7 separate regions of the Homo sapiens genome follow, and all the other regions are linked to region 6. The links are contacts of gene promoters, found by promoter capture Hi-C in blood cells and fetal thymus (Javierre and others, 2016). All regions are on one chromosome and are shown on one strand. The core of a region is centred on a gene start or on the middle of the fragment in contact, and the rest is flanking DNA. Distances in the headings are between cores, read along the strand shown. Region 1 overlaps LOC124901607 (a long non-coding RNA gene). Region 2 overlaps LOC105375220 (a long non-coding RNA gene). Region 3 overlaps LOC124901607 (a long non-coding RNA gene). Region 4 overlaps ZNRF2 (zinc and ring finger 2). Region 5 overlaps ZNRF2 (zinc and ring finger 2). Region 6 holds the start of NOD1 (nucleotide binding oligomerization domain containing 1). Region 7 overlaps LOC105375220 (a long non-coding RNA gene).

Region 1 (3,681 bases), core at 416-2,915, 200 kb before region 6:
TCCAGGTACGGTTTGGGTATTGGGCTTTTTAAAAGCTTCCCAGGGGATTCTGATGTGAAGCCAGGTTGTGAACCACTCCCTTAAGCAAATACACTGTTGCTTGCCTCCTTCCTTCACTCATTCAAGTGCACTCTGGCACAATTTGCTGGGGAGATGGACGATTACAATATAGTATTATAAGTAGTATGTTAAGCACCATCCCAAAGGCCAGGGGAGCCCAGAGGAAGGCCTGAGGCCAAGTCAGATTGCCTGGAGATACCAGATGGGACCTCAGGCTCAAGGATAAAGAGGAGTTCTTGGATTTGTTGAGGGCTATGTTGAGCAGGGTGGGAGAAGGGAGAGTTCTATGCTCATTACCAAAGTGAAATTCATAGAATTTTAAGGTGTAATAGATTATAGAGATTGTTGAATGAATCTAATGGTTTTCAAACTTTTTTTTTCTTTTTTTTTTGAGACGGAGTCTCATTCTGTCGCCCAGGCTGGAGTGCAGTGGCACCATCTCAGCTCACTGCAACCCGTCTCCTGGGTTCAAGAAACTCTCCTGTCTCAGCCTCCCGAGTAGCTGAGATTACAGGTGTGTACCACCATGCCTGGCTAATTTTTGTATTGTTAGTAGAGGCGGGGTTTCACCAGGTGGGCCAGGCTGGTCTTGAACTCCTGACCTCAGGTGATCTGCCTGCCTCGGCCTCCCAAAGTGCTGGGATTACAGGTGTGAGCCACCGTACACAGCCAACTTTTTTAAAAACTATAACCTATATTAGGAGAAATATTCTATGTCTCAGCTCAGAATATATATAAAGTTTCATAAAACAATGTTTAGCTTCACTAAATTCCATGCACTTTGATATTTTTATTTATTTATTTTGTATAGATGACGCCTTACTATGTTGGCCAGGTTGGTCTCCAACTTTTGGCCTTGAGCCATCCTCCCACCTCAGCCTCCCAAAGCACTGGAATTATAAGCATGAGCCATTGCATCCAGCCTACTTTGATATTTTCTAGTCTTTCAATACTATGCTCTTTTAGAAAAAAAAAATACTGGTCATGTTTAGCTGGATTCATTTTCCACTACACTAACGGGTCACAGTGGGCAGTTTGAAAGACCTGGACCTTATCCCTTCAATGTTTCCTTGAGGAAACGATGACCAAGAATAGCTACATGGCATGGCCTGAAAGAGTAAAGAAAAGTGTGTCTGAATTACAGTGTGAAGGACTGGTGTTAGAGACGAAAAAAACCTGTATGGCATTGGTTGGTGGATACTTCAGAGGGACTTGCCTTCCGGAGAAATCCTACTCATTTTTCTGGGAAGTAAAGATAACAGTCCTGTAGAGAGGGCAAGATGATAAATTAATAAATGAGGTATCTGGGTCATTTCTAGGCCCACTGGATATATCAGTATTACTGAGTGAGAATTGTCAGTTTAGCTGGGGTTTGGGCCCTCTTAGAACCACCTGGGGCCTTTGTCTAGTACATATATGACTTCCAGCCATTCTGATATGCACCCTCCCTCTTCAAGAGCCTAAGTTTCTGCTGATAACAAGTCTTACTGAGGCTCGAGCTGATGGGGGTATATCCTATCTCTCCAGTATGTTGGGGCAGGCAGGGAAAACAAAGGTGAGAACTGCTGATCTCTTGAGCAACAGTTTCCAACATTTTAGATTTCACAGGTCAGTAAAAATTCAAAAACAGTTTAGGAATCAACATCAGGGTGCCAATATTTCTTTGTCCCAAAAAACGAAATCTACATTTAAAAAGGAAGAAACAAAAAACCAAATACTCCCCAAATCTATGGCCATCTACAACTATCATAGGGTAGGAAGGATCTAATCTTAGACTAAAGATAGTCTTGTGCATGAAATACATTTAACTTTTTATGGATAACAAAGCTACTGCACTGTCCTAATTTTTCTTATTTCACTGTGAGCACCTTATTACAGACTGGTGCTGGTCTGTAGACCAGTGCCTGGAATTACTGCTCCAACAGATATAAACTTCTTCCTGAGGCTATTCATTCTTCCAATGCGGAAATTTGTATTCTTTATGTCTTGACTGACATGGAAGACAATTATTTTAAATCATAAAAATATCCATTAAGTTGTCTGGAAAATTATACACAAGCCATTAGCTAGATTACATTAAATCTAAAAAAAAGACAGTTCTTATTATTTAGTTTCTCAAGGCATCACCATTTCAAATTTGGCCATAGATGGCTATCATTCTAGTATTGAGCACTGAAGGTAACAGGCACTTGCTTCCTTCTTTCCTCTGCATGATGACTGAGTTTGCCAAAGTCCTAGAGAAGCTGGCCTCACTTTCCAAAACTCTCGTTCCTCTCAAGTTCATATGTGTCAAGCTAAGTAAATTTTCTGCATGGTGGGACTTATTTATTTATTTTTAATTGTTCATCCTGTTTGTGAGCTCCAGAAGAAACTTTTTTTTGCCACTGAAATTCATGAGTTATTATCAAATAAACATATATGAACATTTAATTCAGTATAAAAATCCTGCTGTATTAAAATGAAATCCTAATTGTAGCCGTCATTCTCCTTATTAATATTGGTCTAGACAGTATTTTTCACTTTTTCACCCCATCATTAGCAGTTGGGGGAAGTGGTGTTAAGAAACAGAGCAAGATTTATTATTAGTATGCCACCTGTTAAAAACTGTACTGGAGAAACCAGCTACGTGTACCTCTAAACGTACTGAAATGCTATGTTTTACCAGAGAAATTCTAGGTCATTTCTAATGCCTCCCCAGAATGTCAATGAATCACTATTTCAATTGATTACAAACTCTAAAAAGTAAAAACTCATCATTTTCAAAACCTTTGAATTTGCTGTTTGTACAGGTCAGGTCTGGAGTGCCTTCCTAAAAGTTATTTATTTTCCCCTTTTTCGCTTGCTTCACAGAAGCAACTGAATTCTGTCAGTGTTTTTAGCTCTCTCGTATATTTCTGAGAGTCAAAACTGCCTTAGGAGGTTTTTTGTTTTTGTCCTTTCTTTGCTAAGTCTGTATGTTTTTAATGCAGCACATGTTATTTTCTTGTCTGTATGATTTGCTTGAAGGTTTTGATATTTACATATTATGAAAGAAAATGTCCAAAGTGTATAAAAAACACATTCCTTGTAAAATCTGATTATTTCCTAATGTTCAGGTCTGTTTGTTTCGATGTGGAGGTTGTAGAAGTTTTTTGGCATTAGTATTCTAAACAGTTTAGTATTTGTTCATGTGTACATTTTGCCTATGAGAACGATGTGAAAACGTATCTGCATCCAATCATTTGATCAGTCCTGCAAAAGCTTCTTCCATTCCTACTGTTACTGATGCTGTCCAGCCTTCATTATTTTTTTAATTGAGGTAAAATAGACGTAACACAAAATTTACCATTTTAACCAATTTTAAGTGGTTTAGTGGCATTAAGTACATTCATATTGTTGTGCAGCCTCCTCATTCTTTTTCACCTGGGTTACTGCAACAACCTTAAAAATGCAGTCTTGCTTCTAACTGTGCCGCCATTAAGGAAGGAACTAGAAATCGTATCTCTGCTGACTTATTTTCATTGGTGTATAGAAGAAAAATGGAAAGACAGAAGAAGCATTCTCTGTCATTTCTTCTGTACCTTAGACTTCTGAGTTGCTGAAAATGAAATGCAGACAGTGTTCTCAGGGCCTAAAAAGGAC
Region 2 (3,517 bases), core at 201-2,700, 240 kb after region 6:
GCATATTTACTTTCAGTTTGCCCCATTGTTACCCTGGGTACCTCCAAGCACACAAGCTTACCACAAGGCTGACCATAGACATACTCGGGAATCTCTCCTTGGCTGTCCTCAATGCTCACGTTCTTAGCGTACCTTCACCCTAGAGAAAGGCACCCATGTTGGGCGGCAGATGAAGGGGTGGCCTGCCCCTCCACACCTGTGGGTATATCTCGTCAGGTGGGATGAGAGACTGAGAAAAGAAATGAGACACAGAGACAAAGTATAGAGAAACAACAGCGGGTCCAGGAGACTGGCACTCAGCATACCAAGGACCTGCACGAGTCTCTGAGTTCCCTCAGTTTTTATTGATTATTATTTTCACTATCTCAGCAAGAGGAATGCAGTAGGAAAGCAGGGCGATAATAGGGAGAAGGTCAGCAAGAAAACATGTGAGCAAAAGAATCTGTGTCATAATTAAGTTCAAGGGGAGGTACTATGCCTGGATGTGCACGTAGGCCAGATTTATGTTTCTCTCCACCCAAACATCTCAGTGGAGTAAAGAATAACAAAGCAGCATTGCTGCCAACATGTCTCACCTCCCTCCATAGGGTGGTTTTTCTCCTATCTCAGAATTGAACAAATGTATAATGGGGTTTTATACCAAGACATTCAGTTCCCAGGGGCAGGCAGGAGACAGTGGCCTTCCTCTATCTCAACTGCAAGAGGCTTTCCTCTTTTACTAATCCACCTCAGCACAGACCCTTTACAGGTGTCGGGCTGGGGGACGGTCAGGTCTTTCTCATCCCACGAGGCCATATTTCAGACTATCACATGGGGAGAAACCTTGGACAATACCCGGCTTTCCAGGGCAGAGTTCCCTGTGGCTTTCTGCAGTGCACTGTGCCCCTGATTTATCAAGACTTGAGAATGGCGATGACTTTTATGAAGCATACTCTTTGTAAACATTTTGTTAACAAGTCACATCCTGCACAGCTGTAGATCCCTTAAACCTTGATTCCACGCAACATATGTTTTTGTGAGCTCAAGGTTGGGGCAAAGAGGTTGGGGCAAAGTTACAGATTAACAGCATCTCAGGGCAAAGCAATTGTTCAAGGTACAGGTCAAAATGGAGCTTCTTATGTCTTCCCTTTCTTCATAGACACGGTAACAGTCTGATCTCTCTTTCTCTTCCCTACACCATCCATCCATCATCCATCCATCCATCCATCCATCCGTTCATCCATCATCCATCCATCCATCATTCATGCATCCATTCATCCATCCATCCATCCATCCATCCATCCATCCATCCATCATTCATCCATCCATCCATTCATCCATCCATCCATCCATCCATCCATCCATCCATCCATTTACTCTTCCTTTCCTCCATTTCTCCCTCCCTCCCTCCCTCTCTGTATCTATTCATGCATCAACTCACCCAACTATTTAGCATTCATTGAGGTTTCCTATGTACTCAGACCATGCTGGACCAGGGGTCCTCATCTGTTCCCTGTTGTTATTTTCTTATCCTGTAAAGGAGGGAAGAAGAAACTGAAGAGGAACTTCAGATTCCACCCCAGCTCTATCCTACCTAGCCCTGTGACCTCTCTGGGCCTCAGCCTCTCTGTCTTCAGGAGGGCTTCGTCTTGTAGTTTTCAGTCCACTCTGATGTTTCCTGGCTATGGGGACTGCTTATTCGCGGCAGGGGAGCCCTGCCTGCGTGCTGTTCCTGCTACCTGGATGTGGGGTCTCAGGAGAACCCTGGCTGCATACGTGCCTCAGCCTCCTTCTGGAGACCAGGTGGGAGGTCTGCCCTTAGTGTGGGACACCATGAGCTTGCCCTTCCTTTTGTGTGAGCTCAGTGCTGTAGGAACCAGGCCTGGTGTGGTAAGAAATTTCATTTCCACCCTCTACCTCCATCCCTGCCTGGATAGCTCAGCCCTGCCCAGAGCCTGTGTGGCTATGGAGCTGCTCACCTAGGCAGAGGTGAGACCTGGGAGGGAGTAGGGATGGCCTCCAGCCAAAGTTGAGGCCTGCTTACTGGGGACAGGATGATAGAGCCCAGCTCACTGCCCTGCCCTGCCTTTAAAGTCCTGCTCACATTTTACCTCCTTGGAGAAGTCTGATATGAGACAGTTGGAAGGGTAAGGAAGGATTATGCATGCATGCACACACACGGGCATGTATGCGTGTGTGCACACATACAGAGATATACAGACAGATGGGACACACACAAGCAAACACACCCACACTTCCTCGGGCAGGGCATACCTGCTCGCTCAGCCAGTGTCTCTGAATCAGGCCATGTTGTTTGTCTTTCCTTGCCCATCCCTTCTGCTTGTCCTTCTTCTCTGGGCTGGTCTGGGTTCTGTCATCTCTCCTCTGCTCGAAAACAATCTCTTAGGCCTCTGGGCATCCATTGTGATAGGCAGAAGAATGGTTCCTGAAGAGGTCCACATCCTAATCCCAGAACCTGTGAACATTAGGTCACATGGCAAAGGGAAATTAAGGTTCACATGCAATTAAGATTTCAGTCTTAGTCTGTGTGTACTGCTGTAACAAAATACCTGAGACTGGATAACTTGTAAAGGACAGACATTTATTTCGTACAGTTCTGGAGGTTGGAAGTCTAAGATCAAGGCACAGGCTGGTTCACTGTCTCTGCCAGAAGCCCAGTCTCTGCTTCTAAGATGGTGCCTTGTTGCTGTGTCCTCTGGAGGAGACATACCCTGAGTGCTCCCATGGCAGAGAAGCAAAGGGCTTAAGCTAGTTTCCTCCAGCCCTTTTACAAGGCACGAATCTATGACTGAATCACTGTCCAAAAGGCCCCATCTCCCTCTCCCAATATCACCACCATGGGGATTAAGCTTTAACACATGAATTTTTGGAGAAGACACATTTAAACCACAGCAGTTACTAATCAGCTGACTTGAGATGGGGTGATTATCCTGGATTATCCAGATGGACCCATTGTAATCACAAGAATACTTACAAGTAGAAGAGGGGGCAGGAGAATGAGAAGCAGAGAGACGGCAGTGTGGGAAAGACTTGGGGCAGTGTTGCTGGCTTTGATGCAGGAAGGGGCCATGAGGCAAGGAATGCAAGCAGATTCTACAGGCTGGAAAAGCCAAGGAAGCAGTTTGTCCCCTAGAACCTCCAGAAGGATTGCAGCCCTGCTGACACCTTGATTTTAGCTCCATCAAACCCATTTTGGACATCTGATTGTTAGAGTGGTGAGAGAATACATTTGTGGGTTTAAGCCATTAAGTTCATGGTGATTTGTTACAACAGCAATCAGAAATGAATACATTCATCCATTTAGCTGGTCTTTCTCTCACTTGACACTCTGACTTGTGTTACAGTTTCCTGTGACTGGCTGCAGAGACATTATTGTCCTGTTAGTTGACGACTTGCAAAACCATACACAATGGCTCTGACTGACTGTGGGACCCTGGAAATGCCCCCTTTGCTCTCTTGTCCTCATCCCTCCATCTCTGCAGTTGGGGCTGGGTTAAGGGCCCTTCAGCTTCAACAT
Region 3 (3,574 bases), core at 607-3,106, 240 kb before region 6:
CCCCTAGACACACACCCTTCCCCGTATAAATAATCAAACGTGTGTGGGCCTCTGTGTGAATATACCAGATGTATTAAACACACACAAAACTTACAAGGTTTTTAATGGATGATGACTCAGTGGGACCGAGTTTCAGCAATTTTTGTTTTCAACTGAATGACTGGCACCTTCAATTTTACTCCTTTGTAACAGAAGGTGTGGGGCTCCTGGCTAAGACACAAAACAGTTCTTCTTCTTTTTAATCTGAGAAAGGAAGGAAGAGTTTTAACAGAGTTAATTGAGTGGTTGGGGTCTCTAGAAAGCAACTTGCCTCTCTCAGCTAACAGGAAAGGAAGGAAGAAATAGAAATCGAGGAGAAGCTTTTCTGTGCCCATGCCCTGCCTGCAATGTTAGGAACCTCCCTCTTGAAGTAAATTGGTGAAACCCTTTGCAGGGCAGCTTGGTGATAGGCATCTACTTTGACCCAATTCCTCTTCTAGGAATTTATCCTAAGGAGGAAATTGGACAAGCATACAAAGACAGAGGTGTCGGGATGCACACTAGTGAAAAATTGAAGATTGGAGACAACAAAATGGCTGTCAAGACATTATTTAATACATGTTAAATAAATCATACAACGTCCCCACAATAGGATAATGAACATTCATTCAAATGGTGATATAGATCCCTATTTCTTGCTTGGAAAGGATATAAATAGAAAATTCAACAAAGCTATTTTTATTTTGGAAAATAATAGATGACAAAGAATGAGAGAGGAAGAAAAGTATGAGAAGGTGAAGATCGAGAAGAGGAAACACCATTATCCTCTCTACAACTAATTGTTGCTGGCAGGACTTGGAGCTGCAATCTGAGAATTCTGAATTTATTTATTTATCTTTTTTTTTGTCACTCATGGGAAGAGAAAATTCTGCCCTTAGAATGAATGTAATGTGCATTTTCATCAGCTTGAGGAACACTCTGCAGGAGTTAGGCAGGTCTACTTGTGGAGAAGGCCTTTGGCTGGGACTGCTGTTCACAGGCCTGGCCCATCTTTCTGTGCCCTTTGCCAGGCTCCTGCCTCTCTGGGAGCTCTGCTCTTTCCTCTGGGAAGGGAAACAGTCTGAAAAACGATTCATACAAATGCACAAGTGATTCATCGAGTTATGGGAGCCCTGTCAATGTAGTTATATTAAAAAAGAACCATTTAGGAAAACTCCTGGCCTGCTGGAGGGAGACTAAATTTGTCTAACTATTGAAAGTTAATTTAGATTTGTACCAAAACTCTTAGAATTTTACAAAAATTTTAATGTAGCAATTCCACTTTGAAGAATTTATTCCAAGGAAGCAATCATAAATATAAAAAACATTTAACTACATAAAGATTCATCATAGCAACTGTTTATAAGAGTGAAAATTAAGATCTGCCTGCATGTCCAGCAATAAGGGATTGGATAAATTACATTAGCTCCATTCAATGGAATACATGATATCCCCTAAAAATATTGTTGTGGGAATATACATATTGTTATGGCAAAATTTTTACAACATGATATTGACTGAAAAAGTAGGTACCCAAACACATAATCCTAATTTTTTTAAAGTATAAAAATATCAAAATGTTAAAAATATTTGTCCCTGAATTATATGTGATTATTTTCTTCTGCTTATTGAATATGTCACTTTTGAAATAAGAAATGTTAATAAAATTTTACTTTTTTATTTTTTCTTTTTATTTATTTTCCTTTTTTATTTTATTTTATTTTTGTTATTATACTTTAAGTTTTAGGGTACATGTGCACAATGTGCAGGTTAGTTACATATGTATATATGTGCCATGTTGGTGTGCTGCACCCAGTAACTTGTCATTTAACATTAGGTATATCTCCTAATGCTATCCCTCCCCCCTCCCCCCACCTCACAAGAGGCCCCAGTGTGTGATGTTCCCCTCCCTGTGTCCATGTGTTCTCATTGTTCAATTCTCACCTATGAGTGAGAACATGCAGTGTTTGGTTTTTGGTCCTTGTGATAGTTTGCTGAGAATGATGGTTTCCAGCTTCATCCATGTCCCTACAAAGGACATGAACTCATCATTTTTTATGGCTGCATAGTATTCCGTGGTGTATATGTGCCACATTTTCTTAATCCAGTCTATCATTGTTGGACATTTGGGTTGGTGCCAAGTCTTTGCTATTGTGAATAGTGCCGCAATAAACATACGTGTGCATGTATCTTTATAGCAGCATGATTTATAATCCTTTGGGTATATACCCAGTAATGGGATGGCTGGGTCAAATGGTATTTCTAGTTCTAGATCCCTGAGGAATCGCCACACTGACTTCCACAATGTTTGAACTAGTTTATAGTCCCACCAACAGTGTAAAAGTGTTCCTATTTCTCCACATCCTCTCCAGCACCTGTTGTTTCCTGACTTTTTAATGATCGCCAGTCTAACTGGTGTGAGATGGTATCTCATTGTGGTTTTGATTTGCATTTCTCTGATGGCCAGTGATGATGAGCATTTTTTCATGTGTCTTTTGGCTGCATAAATGTCTTCTTTTGAGAAGTGTCTGTTCATATCCTTCACCCACTTTTTAATGGGATTGTTTGTTTTTTTCTTATTAATTTGTTGGAGTTCATTGTAGATTCTGGATATTAACCCTTTGTCAGATGAGTAGATTGCGAAAATTTTCTCCCATTTTGTAGGTTGCCTGTTCACTCAGATGGTAGTTTCTTTTGCTGTGCAGAAGCTCCTTAGTTTAATTAGATCCCATTTGTCAATTTTGGCTTTTGTTGCCATTGTTTTTTGTGTTTTAGACATGAAGTCCTTGCCCATGCCTATGTCCTGAATGGTGTTGCCTAGGTTTTCTTCTAGGGTTTTTATGGTTTTAGGTCTAACGTTTAAGTCTTTAATCCATCTTGAATTAATTTTTGTATAAAGTGTAAGGAAGGGATCCAGTTTCAGCTTTCTACATATGGCTAGCCAGTTTTCCCAGCACCATTTATTAAATAGTGAATCATTTCCCCATTTCTTGTTTTTGTCAGGTTTGTCAAAGATCAGATGGTTGTAGATATGTGGCATTTTTTCTGAGGGCTCTGTTCTGTTCCATTGGAATTTTACTTTTTTAAAGACACAGGAACCCAAAGTATACCTATAGCATATGACATCATCCTATACTGTTAACTGCACAAGGAGATGTATTTAATACTACATCTGCTTTAGTATATCATTGTGATTCCGGCACCTAGCACAGTGCCTGACATGTAGAAGTTCTTCACAAAGAACAAAGTGGCAGTAACAGGAAGCCCAAATGGAGGAGAAACACTCAACAAACTCCGTACACAACTGTCTGACCTCCTTCATGTCAATTTGATAGTTAAGCTTCATGGGATGAGACCCATTCACTTTTGAATCCCTCACGGTGCCTTGCCCATAGTAGGGACAGCTCAATAAATGTTTCATAAAACTATAAATGATGGTTTCTCTTCTCTCTCCTGGAATCATTTCTACAGACTTTCCTGCGTTTGATACATGCATGCCCTGGTGACAGATCATGTGCTAGAACTGGGATAATAGCCATTGTCATAGGACGTTATG
Region 4 (3,770 bases), core at 1,190-3,689, 170 kb before region 6:
ATGTGCAGTAGAACAGTGCCAACACTCCAGAAATCCTCCCCTTTGTTTTCCTGATAATGAAGCCCTTTTTTCCTCTTAGAATAATCATAATCCGTACATTTGTAATCATTTCTTTGCCATTCTTTGTTTTATAATTTATATATACATTTGTAAAGAATATGTTTAATTTTGCCAGCTTGATATAAATGGAATCATACTCTTTTTTGGGTCTTGCTGCTTTTATGTTTGTAAGATTCATTTATACTGTGTGTAGTTCATCATTCTGTAGTTTAAAGTTTATCATTTTTCATTCTGTAAATACACCAGAATTTTTTCAACCATTCCATTGTTGGGTGTTTGTTTCCATTTTGCCATTATGAACATTGCTACTGTGAATTTTTTGTTAATATGTATTCTGGTGCATATGTGCACAGATTTCTTTAGGACAGTATTACTTAAAATATGGTCCTTGAACGAGCACCATTGGTGGTGTCATCTGTGTGAGCTTGGGAGAAATGCAAATCTGTGGGCTCCACCCTCAATCAGAATCTCTGGGGATGGGGTCTAGGAAACCGAAACAAGCTCTCCACATGAATGACTCTTAAGGACATTAAAATTTGAGAACCACTGCTCTGGGATATATACCTAGAAGTGGAATTGCTGAGTCATAGGTTATGTATACCTTCAGCTTAATAGTGTTTTCCACTGTGGTTATGTTGCTTTTTAGTTACACTGTTGTTTGAGAGTTTGTATTTCTTTACATCCTCTGTAACAATTAGTATTGTCAATATTTTATTTTTTTAAATTAGAATTTGAGTATTTTCTGAGTTACTTTTAATTAGAATTGAATTTTGGCTTTTCAGATTTACTGAAAAAATTGACTTAGATTTACTACAGACTTTCTAAAAATATTATTAGAAATCATAGAAGTAGAGGCAAACAGTACAATGAACTAAAAACTTCATATCTTCAGCATCCACATTCAGTGTTCATTATATTTTGCAGTATTGGCTTCATTTATCTCTTTTCTCTGAATTATTTTAAAGACAGGTCCTAAATATGATGTCTTCACTCCTGTATAAATAAATTCATATATAGAATATGTACCATTTTCTTTACATGATGACATTGTCTTTATTACTGAGGGCCTTTTTACTTTAAAAAGTTAGAATAGGCTTCGTATTAAAACATGTAAAAATTCTAAAATAATGGCAAAGCAGAGTATATAAGCTTTTATTTGGATATCATGAGTGGGACTTTGAACATTCTCTGAACTCTTCTAATGTATTTAGTCAAATAGTTATACTGAATATTTTCTGTTTCAACAATCAGAGTCAAATTTAGATTTCTTAAAGGGATTATTTAACCATTATTTAGGATAAGAATGTGTTTAGAGTGCTCAGAAATTTATCACTTCTCTGATAAAACTCAGCATGTATAATGATGATGTCCTAGTTAAAGACTGGAGTAGACAGCTAAAAGACACCCTGACTCTTTACTCTTAGAAGCAACTCTTTGAAAACCCAGACATACAAACTTTCACATCTGTCAACCTTTTGCTGTGGTATTGTGCAGAGTTCACTATCCTGAATCAGCACATGTCCGTCTAAACTTCCAATAGAATTAAGAGCATTGGAAGTCAGTGTTTATAGTGAATTAAGCAGTGAGTATTTTTTGAATGTGTGTACTATGTTTGGTAATTGTTGGATAAGAAGGAAAGTACAGGAAACTAACCTGTTATTAAGCAGTACAGAAAGGTACCCGGTAATTTTTGTTTTGCATTGTTGTGATTCAGTTAAATGCTAAATTTTGCTGATCAGGAAAGTATAGATATGTAGCATGTAATATATTTTAAAATGTTATGTAATTTATTAAAAATTTGTAAAAAGTTTTAGGGTATGGAAGATAAATGAGGCTGGAGTTGGAAGAAAACAAGATACATGGCTTTGTATATGAATAAAAAGTTGGTATTTGTTTATGTGTATTTTAAACCAGGGAGTGATCAGGTCTGGTTGGTGTTTTGAAGATAGCCTGTGACAACAGTTTGGGGAAGGGTGAGGTCAAGAGCAGATGCATAGAGAGGTTACTGCCATAGTCCAGGAAAAAATAACAGTAGCTACGTTGTGAGGGTGGTGTAGATGTCTAAAGAATTGGTTGAATCTGACAGATACTCAGGAGGTAAAATCTACCAGGTGGGTGATGGCTTGAGAATAAACAGGTGTGGCAGCAGGAAAACAGTGGTAACACTGGCCTGACTGGAACATCTTCATTATTCCTTAGCCCTTTGGTTAGACTAAACTTTTTAATGCAACTTACTGGCAGCTTACAGATGAGTTTTTGTCATAACGAAACTTTTTCAGAATGGTTTTCTTTCCTCTTTTGAAACAAATATTTGGATATTTTGAACAGTTCTTAAAGACTTAATCCAGGGGTTGGCAAATGTCTAGTAAAGGGCCAGATAGTAAATATTTCAGGCTTTGCAGATCTTTTGGTCTCTGTTCCCTCTTTTTGTAGTTTGGGTAAGCCATAGAGACAATACATAAATGAATGTGTGTGGCCACGTTCAATAAAAATTGGTTAGTGGGCACTGAAATTTGAATTTCCTATAATTTTCACATGCCATAGCATTTTCTTTTTTAAAAAATTTTTATTCAGCCATTAAAAAATGTAAAAAGTTCTTGACTCAAGGGCTGTACAAAAATTGACAGTAGGCCACAGTTGGCCTGCAGACCTATGTGGGGTAAACGCACCTGATAGCCATTTTCTTAAGCATACCTTGAGGATGACCCTGTGTGGCATACAGGACTGAATGTGAGTTCCAAGCTAGGGAATCTGAGAGTGGCTAATTAGGAGATTCGTTCCTTGTCTAAGGAGAAACATCTGAGCCCCTGTCCTGTCCTGTCCTGTCCTGTCCTGTCTTGTCCTGTCCTGTGGAACATGAGCTGTACAGGGGATCGAGGTCCCAAGTTTGGGGTTGAAAGAAGGTTGACAGGTGGAGGTTGTTAGTGGGAGGATGCTAACTGAAAATGCTTTATAAACTACATGCCTTTTCCAAGCTGTTGTGGTTCTTCTGTCCAGCCTGCCACCCCTTGACTGTGTGTAAGGTGATTCTTCTGACCAGTCTACTGCTGCGGTACTCTCTGCGCTGTATGTAAGCCTCCAGTAAAACCCCGTGTTTTGTTTGCTGGCTCTGGGTCTTGTTTTTGGCCTCTTGAACTTGGTGCCATTCCCCTTGGAGTCAATAGGGGTCCGGCACAAGAACCTGCACTTTACCAACCCCAGAATTTTACCCCGAGTGTAATTTCTTTACGAGTAACTTTTAAGATAGATAGTAAATAGGCTGTAGGATGTTAATTCCTTTCATTCCTAAAGAGTCATAAATGCTTAAGTCTGTAATGCTATATTTGATTCTTCCATATGTGAATTTGGGGGATGTAGAAACGAACTACCAGCAAACCCAATATAGCTAAGGAAGTATATAATGCAGAGTGAATTTCATGAAGAGCAGTATCTTTAAGAAGGTAACTAACACATACCAATGAAAAGTGGTTTCCATAGGTGAGCCCCAATGGGAAAGAAAGTTAATGACTTTTGTCAGACTAACTGCAGATGTGTTAAGAAAGTTGCGCTGGGTTCTAGGGTAGTTGTAGGAAACTTGGCTTAAATACTTAGGAGTTGGCATGCTACCTGCTAAGCTTGAAAATCCTTGTAGAACCAGCCCTTCAGTTCTGAATTAATTTTTGACATAATTCTTAAGGATTATATTATGTATGCGTTGTTTTAGAAAATAC
Region 5 (3,504 bases), core at 261-2,760, 150 kb before region 6:
AAGATTGGCTAAATTCAACATATATTTTGAGCATCAATTATGTGCGAGGTACTGTGTTAGGAATTAGAGATATAGCAGTGAATGAACAGAAATGGAGCTTACAGCCTACTAATAGTAATAGTCACTGATTTCTTTGAGCTAAGAATTATTGGTTAAATAAAAAGGTTCTATGAAAAACTTAGTAGATATAGCAGCACTTATCTGAGCTTTCTCCTCAGGTAACAAAAATGTTGGGAGGGGTAGAATTTAACATTGAAATGAGCATATTACTTTTGGTAGTGTTTTGCAAGTTGATCTAAGAATCAGTCTCTCAATTCTTCCCTTTCCTTCACTTTTTCTAGTATGGTGGTGCTTCAGCCACCCTATTACAGGGTTGACAATAGAGCACTTTTTGCCATTCATTTGCTGATGAAATGTGAAAGTGGTTTTAAGCAGTTACTTGGCATAATAAATGTATTTGTTGATTATATCCTAACCTTTTTGCATTATGAAATTGAATTGGCTACTTTGCATTATCTACTTCAAGTTTAGTTATTTAAGAAATAGAAAGTGTTCTCATTCAAAATTTGTGACTAAAAGTATATGGGTTTGTTTTTCATACCTGCTCCACTATCTTATATTCTATAATTGTTTATGTTTAATATGAGTGCCTTTAAATATCCATAAATCTTAAAGCTTCTGGCTTTCAATTTGAAAATCACAAATATATTTGACCATATAATAATATATTTACACACAGTCTTAGTATTCTGTATGTTTACTTTTTGTGTAATATATCTAGAATACAGTCTTCTTGTGTATTGTGATATTTAACAATTTTTTTAACTTTTAAGTTGAGGGGTACATGTGCAGGTTTGTTATATAGGTAAACTTGTGTCATGGGGGTTTGTTCTACAGATATTTTGTTACTCAGGTATTAAGCCTAGTACTCATTAGTTATTTTTTCTGATCCTCTCCTTCCTCCTACTCTCCACCCTCTGGTAGGCTCCAATGTGTATTGTTCCCCTCTTTGTGTCCATGTGCTCTCATCATTTAGCTCCCACTTACAAGTGAGAACGTGCGGAATTTGCTTTTCTGTTCCTGTGTGAGTTTGCTGAGGATAATGGCCTCCAGCTCCATCCATGTTTCCACAGAGGACATGATCTTCTTTTTTATGGCTGTGTAGTATTCACACGGTATATATGGACCCACATTTTCTTTATCCAGTCTATCATTTGATGGGCATTTAGGTTGATTCCATGTCTTTGCTCTTGTGAACAGTGCTGCAGTGAACATATGCATGCATGTGTCTTATAACACAAGGATTTATATTCCTTTAGGTGTATACCCAGTAGTGGGATTGATGGGTCAAATGGTATTTCTGTTTTTAGGTCTTTGAGGAATTGCCATACTGTCTTCCACAATGGTTGAACTAATTTACACTCCCACCAACAGTGTGTTAAGTGTTCCTTTTTCTCTGCAGCCTCTCCAACATGTATTTTTTTTTGACTTTTTAATAATACGCATTCTGACGCTTGAAATGGTATCTCCTTGTGGTTTTGATTTGCATTTCTCTAATGATCAGTGATGTTGAGCTTTTTTTCATATGATTCTTGGCCACATTTATGTCTTCTTTTGAAAAGTGTTCATCTCCTTTGCACATTTTTTCATGGGGTTGTTTGCTTTTTTCTTGTAAATTTGTTTAAGTTCCTTATATATGCTGGATATTAAACCTTTGTCAGATGCTTCGTTTGCAAAAATTTTCTCCCATTCTGTAGGTTGTCTGTTCACTTTGTTGATAGTTTCCTTTGCTGTGCAGAAGCTCTTTAGTTTAATTAGATCCCATTTGTCAATTTTTGGTTTTGTTGCAATTGCTTTTGGTGCCTTTGTCATGAAATCTTTGCCTGTTCTTATGTCTATAATGGTATTGCATAAGTTGTCTTCCAGGGTTTTTATAGTTTTGGATTTTACATTTAAGTCTTTAATTCATCTGGACTTAATTTTTGTATGTGGTTTAAGGAGGTTGGCGTGGGGTAGGGGTCCAGTTTCAATCTTCTGCATATGGCTAGCTAGTTATCCCAGCACCATTTATTGAATAGGGAATCCTTTCCCCATTGCTTGTTTTTGGTCAGGTTTGGATATTTGACAGTTCTTAATTTCCTGATTTAACTATGCCTAAGTCATTAAACTGTTCTGCTAGATCACTTGTTTGGTGTCTTAAGAACTAATATATAACCTTCTGCTTGGGGATACTATAACAACCAAATATTTCGAATTTTAAATATTTAACAGTATTTCAATCTAGAAATTAATAAATTTCATGCAATAAGTAAATAAACTTGTAGGCATTCTTAAAGTTGCTGACTGAAAGCTTTAAAAAATAAAAATATATATATTTTTGTTTTTAGAGTCAGGATCTTGCTGTGTTGCCCGGGCTGGAGCTCAGTGGCTATCTATAGGCACAGTCATGGCACACGACAGCCTCAAACTCCTGGGCACAAGTGATCCTCCTACCTCAGCCTCCTAAGTAGCTAGGACTACAGGTGCATGCCACCATGCCTGGCTTTTATTTTTTATTTTGTAGAGATAAAAAATTCAAAGTATGTATTAATTGTATAAACATTCACAGCAAGAAGCAAATACAGCTTCTTAATAAAAACCGTGTATAGTTTTTGAGGTTTTAAAACTAGCTCTTGGACAGTGGCCAGTTATGAGTAAGTGAAGGAGAAAGGAGCTTTGCCTGGACTGATTTGGAGGGTTACAGAGAGGTGGCAGGTTAATAATGTACTTTCCTATCATAGGCAAGGGGAATTCTAATGCCACCTGGTTTTAAAGTCAGACCCCCCCCAAAATGTCTGTCACAGGTGATGAGTCCAAATGGAAATTGGCTCCTTTAATACCTCATAAGCAAACCATCTAGGATTATTATAAAGTAGAACAAGGTAAAGCCAGAGAATCTCTAAAACTGAATCTTTTTAGTCAACTGGATTCCTCACAATTTTATATTTGAATTCCTACATGTTGATTCCATAGAGAGATACATCAGATACATTGGGCCTCTGAATTGTGTTAGTGCTCAAACAAGAACATTTTTTTCAGCATACTGTTCATTTAACTTACACTTTTGCAGCCTTTTCCAAAGTAGCTAGATCTGAAATTTTGAAATTTATTTGTTAAGTGAATGTTAACTGTCTATAAACATTCATAGTTATAACACAAGAATAGTGGGGCTTGTTTTCTTCAGACTGGATATATTTATATAGATAAGCTCCTGAATTGGATGAGTTCCAGAAATTCAAATATAAGTTGATGATTTAGAGTTTCAGACTCTTTGTCACAGAGATGATATTTGAAATATTGGTTTTTCAGACTAGCTCACCAAAACCTTCTTATTTTTTTAAATGCACAATATATCTGAACACCCACATCCTGGTACCTGAAGAAGAAATTGGCTGACTAGGTAGAAACTCTCAGGGATTGGGCAGCTGGCTCGGCAGAGATCCCAATGGGACGCCCAAGGCTGTC
Region 6 (3,386 bases), core at 513-3,012:
GCTAGCCTCAGGAGAGGGTTGCTCTTTATTTTACAGGTGGGAAAACAGGGGCTTGGAGAGGTCAAGGAACTTGCCCAAAGTCACAGCATAGAAGTGACAGAATCCGAGTTTTGACCCAGATTTGATGGGTTCCAAAGCGTGAACTTATTTCTCCACTCCACAAAAATAAAACCTACTCTTCTTACAATATTTGAAAGAGCCCTCTTCTACCACTCTGCTGTTTGTTTTAAACACAGCTTGCTTATCTGTCTGGCATATTCGGTAGAAGTCTGTACTTTGTCAATGCCTGGTTTGCCTGGATTTCAGCTACCTGGCCCCTGGCATCTAAGCCTGGGTGAGAACAGGGAATCCACTCCTCTCTAAGATGCATCGTGGAGTTACTCTTTTACTCTTCCCTGAAAGTGATAGTTCAATCTTCAACAGGGGCTTTGAGGGAGAACAAACTCGACCCTTTGGCAAGCACGACTTCTGGCTTCACCGTTTTTTTGTTTTTTGTTTGTTTGTTTGTTTTTGACGGAGTTTTGCTCTTGTTGCCCAGGCTGGAGCGCAACAGGGCGATCTCGGCTCACTGCAACCTCTGCCTCCCGGGTTCAAGCAATTCTCCTGCTTCAGCCTCCCGAGTAGCTGGGATTACAGGCATGCGCCACCACGCCCGGTTAATTTTTTTTTTTTTTTTTTTTAGTAGAGACGGTTTCACCATGTTGGGCCAGGCTGGTCTCGAACTCTCGACCTCAGGTGATCCGCCTGCCTTGGCCTCCCAAAGTGCTGGGATTACAGGCGTGAGCCACCGCGCCCGGCCCTGGCTTCACCCTTAAAGCAGAAAGGCCAGAAGTCATCAAGGCCATGGGTTTACTAGCTTAGCTTCCCCAGACTTAATTTCAAACACCAACAACCGAAATGTTTCCTAGAATGCAGAGCTAATGAGACATCAACCTCTGTCATTTCCTATGTTTTTCACAATGTGCCAAAACAACTGCACACATTGGAGGCGTTTTTGAATGTGATATTCAGGCGACCTTGCCAAGCATTGTCTCATTTCCTTACTTTGTGGAGCATGAAACCCAAGGGAAGTTCTCACCCTCTCTCCAGGACCAAGCAGGACACTGGGAGCTGCTGTCCCGTCTGCAGGCGGGACTCCATGAAGGCCCCTGTCTGCCCTTCCAGCCTTTGCCACAAACCCTCGAACGCTGGCTGCACACTGGAATCACTTGGGGAGCTTTTAAAAGATACGGAGGCCTGGGTCTGACTCCGTGAGATTCTGATGGAATTGATCTAGGGTGCAGCCTGGATATCTGGATTTTAAAAGCTCCCCAGGTGGTTCTAAGCTGCTGGCACGATTGAGAACCCCTGCGTTCGACCACAGTGGGATAAACGATTCCGCTGACTGTGAAGTTCATCCCTCTCAACTTTCGCTACATGCTTCAAACTCGCGGGTTTCTCCGCTTGGTTCCACCCAGAGCTCCTCCAGAGCCGCGCTGCGTTCCGCCCGCACGCAAATCCCGCCTCCCTGCGCCTCCTCACTCGCAGCGCCCAGGACCTCAGAAAGGGCCTGCCCCGCGCGAATCCCCAGTCGCTGGGACTTACTTGGCCACCAGGTTTACAGACTTCGCAGCCGCTGAGAGCTAGAGAAGAGCCCGGAGAGCGCCATGGTCCGGGGACGCCGGGGCCGGGAAGCGCCGTGGCCCGGGAGGACGCTGCTCCCGCAGTAGCGCGAGGGAGGGGCAGGACCGGGGCGGCTGCCTCGCGGGCCCGGAACGGGAACTGGCTGCGACTACAGCCGCAGCCGCGCCCCTCTGTTGGCGCGCCCAAGAGCCTGCCGGCTGCTGGGAGAGGCCGCCGAAGGGCGGGGGCGGTCAAGGCAGGGTCCCACGGTGCTGCCATTCGCCCGGGTCTGGCGCGGGGGGGCGAGAGAAGCTGCGCGCAGAGGGACGCCCGGTGCGAGAGGGTGAGCCCCTGGCCACCGCGCAGGGCCGAGTGGACAGGCCCAAGTTCGCCCAGAGGTGACACACTTGGGAATTTGTGGTGCCATCGTGCCAGGTCCCTCCTCGTAAAAGTGCCTACCCAGCGCCTGCAACCAGAGCCAAAGCCTGGACATGATAGGGAAACTCTTGTTAAAACGCGACACGTGGTCCTGATGAAATGGAGGTTAACGTAATCAAATTTAAATTACACTGCATACATTTCAATTTATACTTTTTAAAAAATGTAAGCTTTTCTTCCTATCCTTAAATTTGTTCTTGGCAGTGTACATTTTATGTTCTATGCATATGCTCTAATAGGTTGTAAAAGAGTTTTAACATGCTAATAAATGTCCCCAATAAAATAGTTTTAAAACGTTTTGAATGGGGATCGTGTCCATAAGGGATATCATGCTACAGAAAGTTGTCACTTACTCACACTGAAGAAGTACATTCAATCATATAGCCACTGATGCTTGTGAGTATTAAAATTCCCATCAGAGGCTGCCCTCTGAGAAACAGAAAGTATGTTCTTAAATCAAAAGTGAAAGTGCAAACTAAAGTTGATAGGATCAAATGTGCCAACTTGTGTCAGGCCTCTGAGCCCAAGCCTGCATGTATACATCCAGATGGCCTGAAGCAACTGAGGAATCACAAAGGTAGTGAAAATGGCTGGTTCCTGCCTTAACTGATGACATTACCTTGTGAAATTCCTTCTCCTGGCTCAGAAGCTCCCCCACTGAGCACTTTGTAGACCTTCCACCCCCCCGGCCCCCGCCTTGCCCACCAGAGAACAACCCCCTTTGACTGTAATTTTCCACTACCCACACAAATCCTATAAAGCTACCACACCCCTAACTCCCTTTGCTGACTCTTTTTTTCGTACTCGGCCCACCTGCACCCAGGTGAAATAAACAGCTTTATTGCTCACGCAAAGCCTTTTGGTGGTCTCTTCACACGGACACGTGTGACATTTGGTGCCGAAGACCCGGGACAGGAGGACTCCTTCAGGAGACCAGTCCCCTGTCCTCACCCTCACTCTGTGAGGAGATCCACCTATGACCTCGGGTCCTCAGACCAAACAGCCCAAGGAACATCTCACCAATTTCAAATCGGGTAAGCGGTCTTTTCACTGTCTTCTCCAGCCTCTCTCACTACCCTTAAATCTCCCTCTATTTCCAATTCCAGTTCTTTCTCCTCTCTAGTAGAGACAAAGGAGACATATTTTATCCATGGACCCAAAACTCCAGCTCCGGTCACGGACTCAGGAAAACAGTCGTCCCTTGGTGTTTAATCACTGCAGGGACACCTGCCTGATTATTCACGTACATTTCATTGGTGTCTGATCACCGTGGGGATGCCTGCCTTGGTCATTCACCCACATTCCCTTGGTGGCAAGTCAATTGTGGGTCGCCTGCTTTGGCTGCT
Region 7 (3,743 bases), core at 134-2,633, 220 kb after region 6:
TATCTGAGGAGCTTTTAACAGGTGCTAATGCCTACTGGGATGACTGAGATGGGAGTGTGGATGCTGGGTTAGATAGTACTGTATCAATGCTACATCTGCTGATTCTGATACTGTACTGTGGGTAGGTAAGAGAATGTTCTCATTCTTGGAAAATACACATTTAGGATTAAAGGGGCACCATGTTTCCAACATACTTTCAAATGGTTCAGAAATAAACTCAGATAGATACATAGATAGAACAAGAGAGCAGATGGGGCAAAATGTAAATTGTTGGTAAATCTGGAAAAGGGGTATATGGATATGCTTTGGATCATTCTTCCAACTTTTCTGTACGTTTGAAATTCTATCAAAATAAAATGCTTTCAAAAAAAAAAAAAAAAAACCCAACCGACAGCAAATACAGCCATGGCAGGGCTCACCCAGAGATTCCAATGAAGTAGCTTGGGATGGGGCCCAGGTGTCTGTCTGTATGGGGCCCAGGTTCCATTTCAGGAAATGGTTAGGGATCCTGATATCAGGTGGCTGAGCAGTGCTGTTCTTGGCGGGGACAGGTTCAACCTGGGGCTGGGTCAGGGCTCATGAGGTGAGGTCTGTTCTTCCAGAGCCTCAGAAGCCTCCTTAGGAGCTGTTCCTGACAGGTGGGCCTGGTGCAGGGGGTTTAAAAGCTTAAGCCACAGTTGCACCTTGCTTGTTGTTAGGATCTGAGGGGAAAGCATGTGAGGAATGTGATTAGTGGGGCACCAAACTTTCTCCTGGAGATGCAGGCATGGTGGAGAGAGACCTTGGAAAACTCAGTCCCGATTTAAGTAACTCAGACACTCTGTGCTCCTTCCGGTCTCCCTATCTAAGACATGGGACACTTTTCTGTCCTTGAGTGCTTCCTCCCCACCCTCAGCCCCTTCCTCCAGGCAGCCTTCCTGGCTGTTCCAGGTCCCACCTCCCTCTCCTGTGAAATCTCACAGGTCTGAGTCTGAAGCTCTGCCTCGCTGGTGTGGACTGTTCTCCAAGCTCTGGGAGGATAAGGATGAATGTGGATGTGCCCCAACCTTCCTCTCCTTGTTTTTTCTTCTCCCTTCCCTCCTATTTTGTACAGAGCTTAGTCTCAGTGGTACAGGGAAATCTTTATAGGAAAAATGGAGGAAGAATTGATCGGATTCCTCATTTATTTGAAGGTGGCAGGGTGAAAACCCTATCCCAAGTCCTGGGGCAGGATTTGGCTTTCCCGGACCCAGCCAGATGGGCTTGGTCAGAGAGGGCTCCTTGTAGAAGGTGGATACCTCCTACAAAACATCATAAGCTGGGAAGGACTTTGAGAGCTGGGCAGACTCTGAAAGATGGCTGGGACAGTTCCCTTCAGCAGCCTTCAGCTGTAGGTCTCCAGGGGCCAGCCTAATAGCAGGCACCAAGAGCAGAGGCCAGCCTCAGAGTGTGCAGGGACATGGGAAGGAGAGGCATGGGGAACCCATGAGACCTGGCATCCATAACTGATGGGAGGTGGGACATGGCACAGGTGCTGGGCCAGCTCAGGGGAGTGAGAGGGCACTTCCTGGGAAGGTACTGCAGGAGCACCTTGAAGGGTTTAAGCAGATGGAGGAATGGGAGACCCTTACTGCAAATGGGGAAGTCTCCTGAGCAGAAGCAGGGAGCAAGGTCTCATGCAGCTGGGAGCCTGGCTGGGTGGGGCAAGCTGGAGGGAAGCCAGATTCTCTGCAGCTTTAGGAGGGTCCGGGTAGCAGTAGGCACTGTGGTGCTTAGCCCAGGTTCCTCTCTTGGGGGGGTGTTCTGGGTGCCTGTCTTAGCTTGGGCTGCTGTAGCAGAGTACCATACCCTGGGTGGCCTTAACAACAGACATTGATTTCTCTCTATTCTGGAGGCGGTGATATCCAAGATCAGGGTGCCAGCATGGTCAGGTTCTGATGAGGGCCCTCTCTTGGGTCTGTAGGTGGCACCTTCTTGCTGTTTCCTCACATGGCAGAGATGTTGGACTCTTGTCTCTTCCTCTTCTTCTAAAGGCACTAATTCCATCATGGGGATTCTGCCCTCATGACCTCACCTAACCCTAAACCCTAATTACCTCCCAAATAGCATCACATCAAGGGTTAAAGCTTCAACTTGGGAATCTGGGGGGTGGGGGCACACAGATTCAATCCATGTCAGTGCCATTCCCCTGGCTTTCCTTGTGCTTCTAAATAGGTCCCTTTTCACAACCTAGAACTTTCTTAGAACTCTCCTGGGGCAATGAGAACCACTTTTTGCACAAAGTACCCAGGAATTTATATCCTCCCAACCCCCTAAGGGCATCCTTAGCATTGAGTGATTGGTGTTCCTTTGCCTGGAGGTGGAAGGAACTCTGAAGTGTAATGGACATTCTAGAACTCCTTGTGGAACCAGGCAGAGGCCGGGACTCTGCCTGGGATCTTTTCCATTCTCCGTCCTGCCTTGCCTCGTCTCTTACCAGTCGCTCCTGGGAACATTTTCTTTACACATCCCTGCACAGGAATCCTCACCTTTGGGGAACCCCATCTAAGGGAGCCTAAATGGTCAAAGAAGTCTGTCTGGACTTGATCCCTCTAAATGGAAGGTGTTAACAACAAACAACGACAATAAAAAAACAAAAAACTTGAGCCTGCAGGGTTTCCTCTAGACAGCCTTTCACTTTCTGAGGCTGCTGGTGGTAGAATAAACCTTGCCTAGCAACGTGATCTGAGCAGGTTAATAACAACCTGCTCGTTTATAAGCTTTGTGTTACTAAGGGTAGATTCAGTGTGGAAAGGAGGCTTTATGTTTTTGAAAATGCCTTCATGGGCCTTTTTGGTGATGAAAGACAAACTCAGCATGATCTAAAAGAGAAGTGTGTGGAAAGAGACCTAACTAGCTTTGTAAAGCAAAGCTATTGAAATGACTAGATTGAGCATGGCATTCCAAGATGGAGACAGTGTAGAAGGGCTAGGAGCTGGGCTCTAGAAAGGAGGAGGAAAAAGAAGAGGAGACACGGACTGGCACAGGCCAGGTCCAAGCATGGATGAACCAGGAGCTTCCCTATGGTGGTGAATTGTCAATGAATGTTATGCCTCATCTTCAGAAAAGTCTACAATACACAACAGCCTGTGCCAGCAGTGAAGGAGGAGGTGCTGGGGCATGTTGGATACAGGGTTAGGAGAGGTGAGAGGTTGCAGGAAGCGGGAGCTGAACTGGACATTTCTTTGTTTTGTCCCAAGATGGTACTGTCCTTCTGAGAAATGCTCCATCCTCTACTCCAACGCTGCTCAGCCTTTTTTTTCCCATTATTATTTACAAGGAGGCTTTTTAGATATTTATTTTCCTAATTGCCTTCCCTCCTACCATGAAATTTTAATACCACAGACATACTGTATATGTGTCATGTACTTGCCTCTTTGGAGGGCCACAGACCATTCTCATATCAGATGGTTCTGCCTCCTAAGAACGGATTTTGTTCCCTTGGGAGCAAAGAACAGGCATGCTCTTTTCCAGCCACGTGATCAGGCTAGCAGCCAGCCACTGTGGATTGGCCAAATGCTATTCACCAAGCTGGACAATGAGAGTGTCTCACCCCGCTGACCATGGTTGGTTGGTACAGGAATGGACAGCTGATCTGAAATTACCCAATCATAGCCCTCCTCTGGGATTTTTATTTTTATTTTTTGAGACCGGGTCTTATGCTGTCACCTAGGCTGGAGTACAGTGGCATGATCATGGCTCACTATAGCCTCTACCTTCCAGGA

The links. Contacts are between HindIII fragments. The CHiCAGO score rates a contact against its expected background, and 5 or more counts as called.
Region 1: a fragment that was not itself captured here is called in contact with the fragment with the promoter of NOD1 in region 6 in 12 of 17 cell types (total CD4 T cells, naive CD4 T cells, activated CD4 T cells and 9 more); the score reaches 19.9 in total CD4 T cells.
Region 2: a fragment that was not itself captured here is called in contact with the fragment with the promoter of NOD1 in region 6 in 1 of 17 cell types (non-activated CD4 T cells); the score reaches 6.2 in non-activated CD4 T cells.
Region 3: a fragment that was not itself captured here is called in contact with the fragment with the promoter of NOD1 in region 6 in 6 of 17 cell types (total B cells, naive CD4 T cells, naive B cells and 3 more); the score reaches 8.4 in total B cells.
Region 4: a fragment that was not itself captured here is called in contact with the fragment with the promoter of NOD1 in region 6 in 10 of 17 cell types (total B cells, naive CD4 T cells, naive CD8 T cells and 7 more); the score reaches 15.3 in total B cells.
Region 5: a contact is called between a fragment that was not itself captured here and the fragment with the promoter of NOD1 in region 6, in 9 of 17 cell types (naive CD4 T cells, activated CD4 T cells, total B cells and 6 more). The highest score is 13.5, in naive CD4 T cells.
Region 7: a contact is called between a fragment that was not itself captured here and the fragment with the promoter of NOD1 in region 6, in 1 of 17 cell types (non-activated CD4 T cells). The highest score is 5.0, in non-activated CD4 T cells.

Annotation. Positions count from the first base shown.
Region 1 is chr7:30,272,203-30,275,883 of GRCh38, forward strand. The region is part of intron 2 of LOC124901607 (a long non-coding RNA gene); the gene reads left to right. All of the region lies in intron 1 of LOC105375218 (a long non-coding RNA gene), which reads right to left. Among named protein-coding and RNA genes, the nearest start is that of ZNRF2, 11 kb to the right of the region's middle. The HindIII fragment of the contact is 3,265 bases long and covers 34-3,298 here.
Region 2 is chr7:30,718,414-30,721,930 of GRCh38, forward strand. All of the region lies in intron 1 of LOC105375220 (a long non-coding RNA gene), which reads left to right. It overlaps LOC105375219 (a long non-coding RNA gene), which reads right to left. Exons shown (of 4, transcript XR_927156.3): 2 at 2,254-2,455; 3 at 1,421-1,511. Among named protein-coding and RNA genes, the nearest start is that of INMT, 32 kb to the right of the region's middle. The HindIII fragment of the contact is 2,793 bases long and covers 55-2,847 here.
Region 3 is chr7:30,233,148-30,236,721 of GRCh38, forward strand. The region is part of intron 2 of LOC124901607 (a long non-coding RNA gene); the gene reads left to right. Among named protein-coding and RNA genes, the nearest start is that of ZNRF2, 50 kb to the right of the region's middle. The HindIII fragment of the contact is 2,999 bases long and covers 358-3,356 here.
Region 4 is chr7:30,307,988-30,311,757 of GRCh38, forward strand. All of the region lies in intron 1 of ZNRF2 (zinc and ring finger 2), which reads left to right. Among named protein-coding and RNA genes, the nearest start is that of MIR550B1, 20 kb to the left of the region's middle. The HindIII fragment of the contact is 2,465 bases long and covers 1,208-3,672 here.
Region 5 is chr7:30,325,323-30,328,826 of GRCh38, forward strand. All of the region lies in intron 2 of ZNRF2 (zinc and ring finger 2), which reads left to right. Among named protein-coding and RNA genes, the nearest start is that of MIR550B1, 37 kb to the left of the region's middle. The HindIII fragment of the contact is 1,675 bases long and covers 674-2,348 here.
Region 6 is chr7:30,477,022-30,480,407 of GRCh38, forward strand. It overlaps NOD1 (nucleotide binding oligomerization domain containing 1), which reads right to left and starts at 1,763. Exons shown (of 14, transcript NM_006092.4): 1 at 1,585-1,763. RefSeq lists an enhancer at 1,259-2,003 and a silencer at 1,652-1,891. The HindIII fragment of the contact is 7,069 bases long and covers 1-2,208 here.
Region 7 is chr7:30,700,461-30,704,203 of GRCh38, forward strand. All of the region lies in intron 1 of LOC105375220 (a long non-coding RNA gene), which reads left to right. Among named protein-coding and RNA genes, the nearest start is that of CRHR2, 20 kb to the left of the region's middle. The HindIII fragment of the contact is 1,440 bases long and covers 664-2,103 here.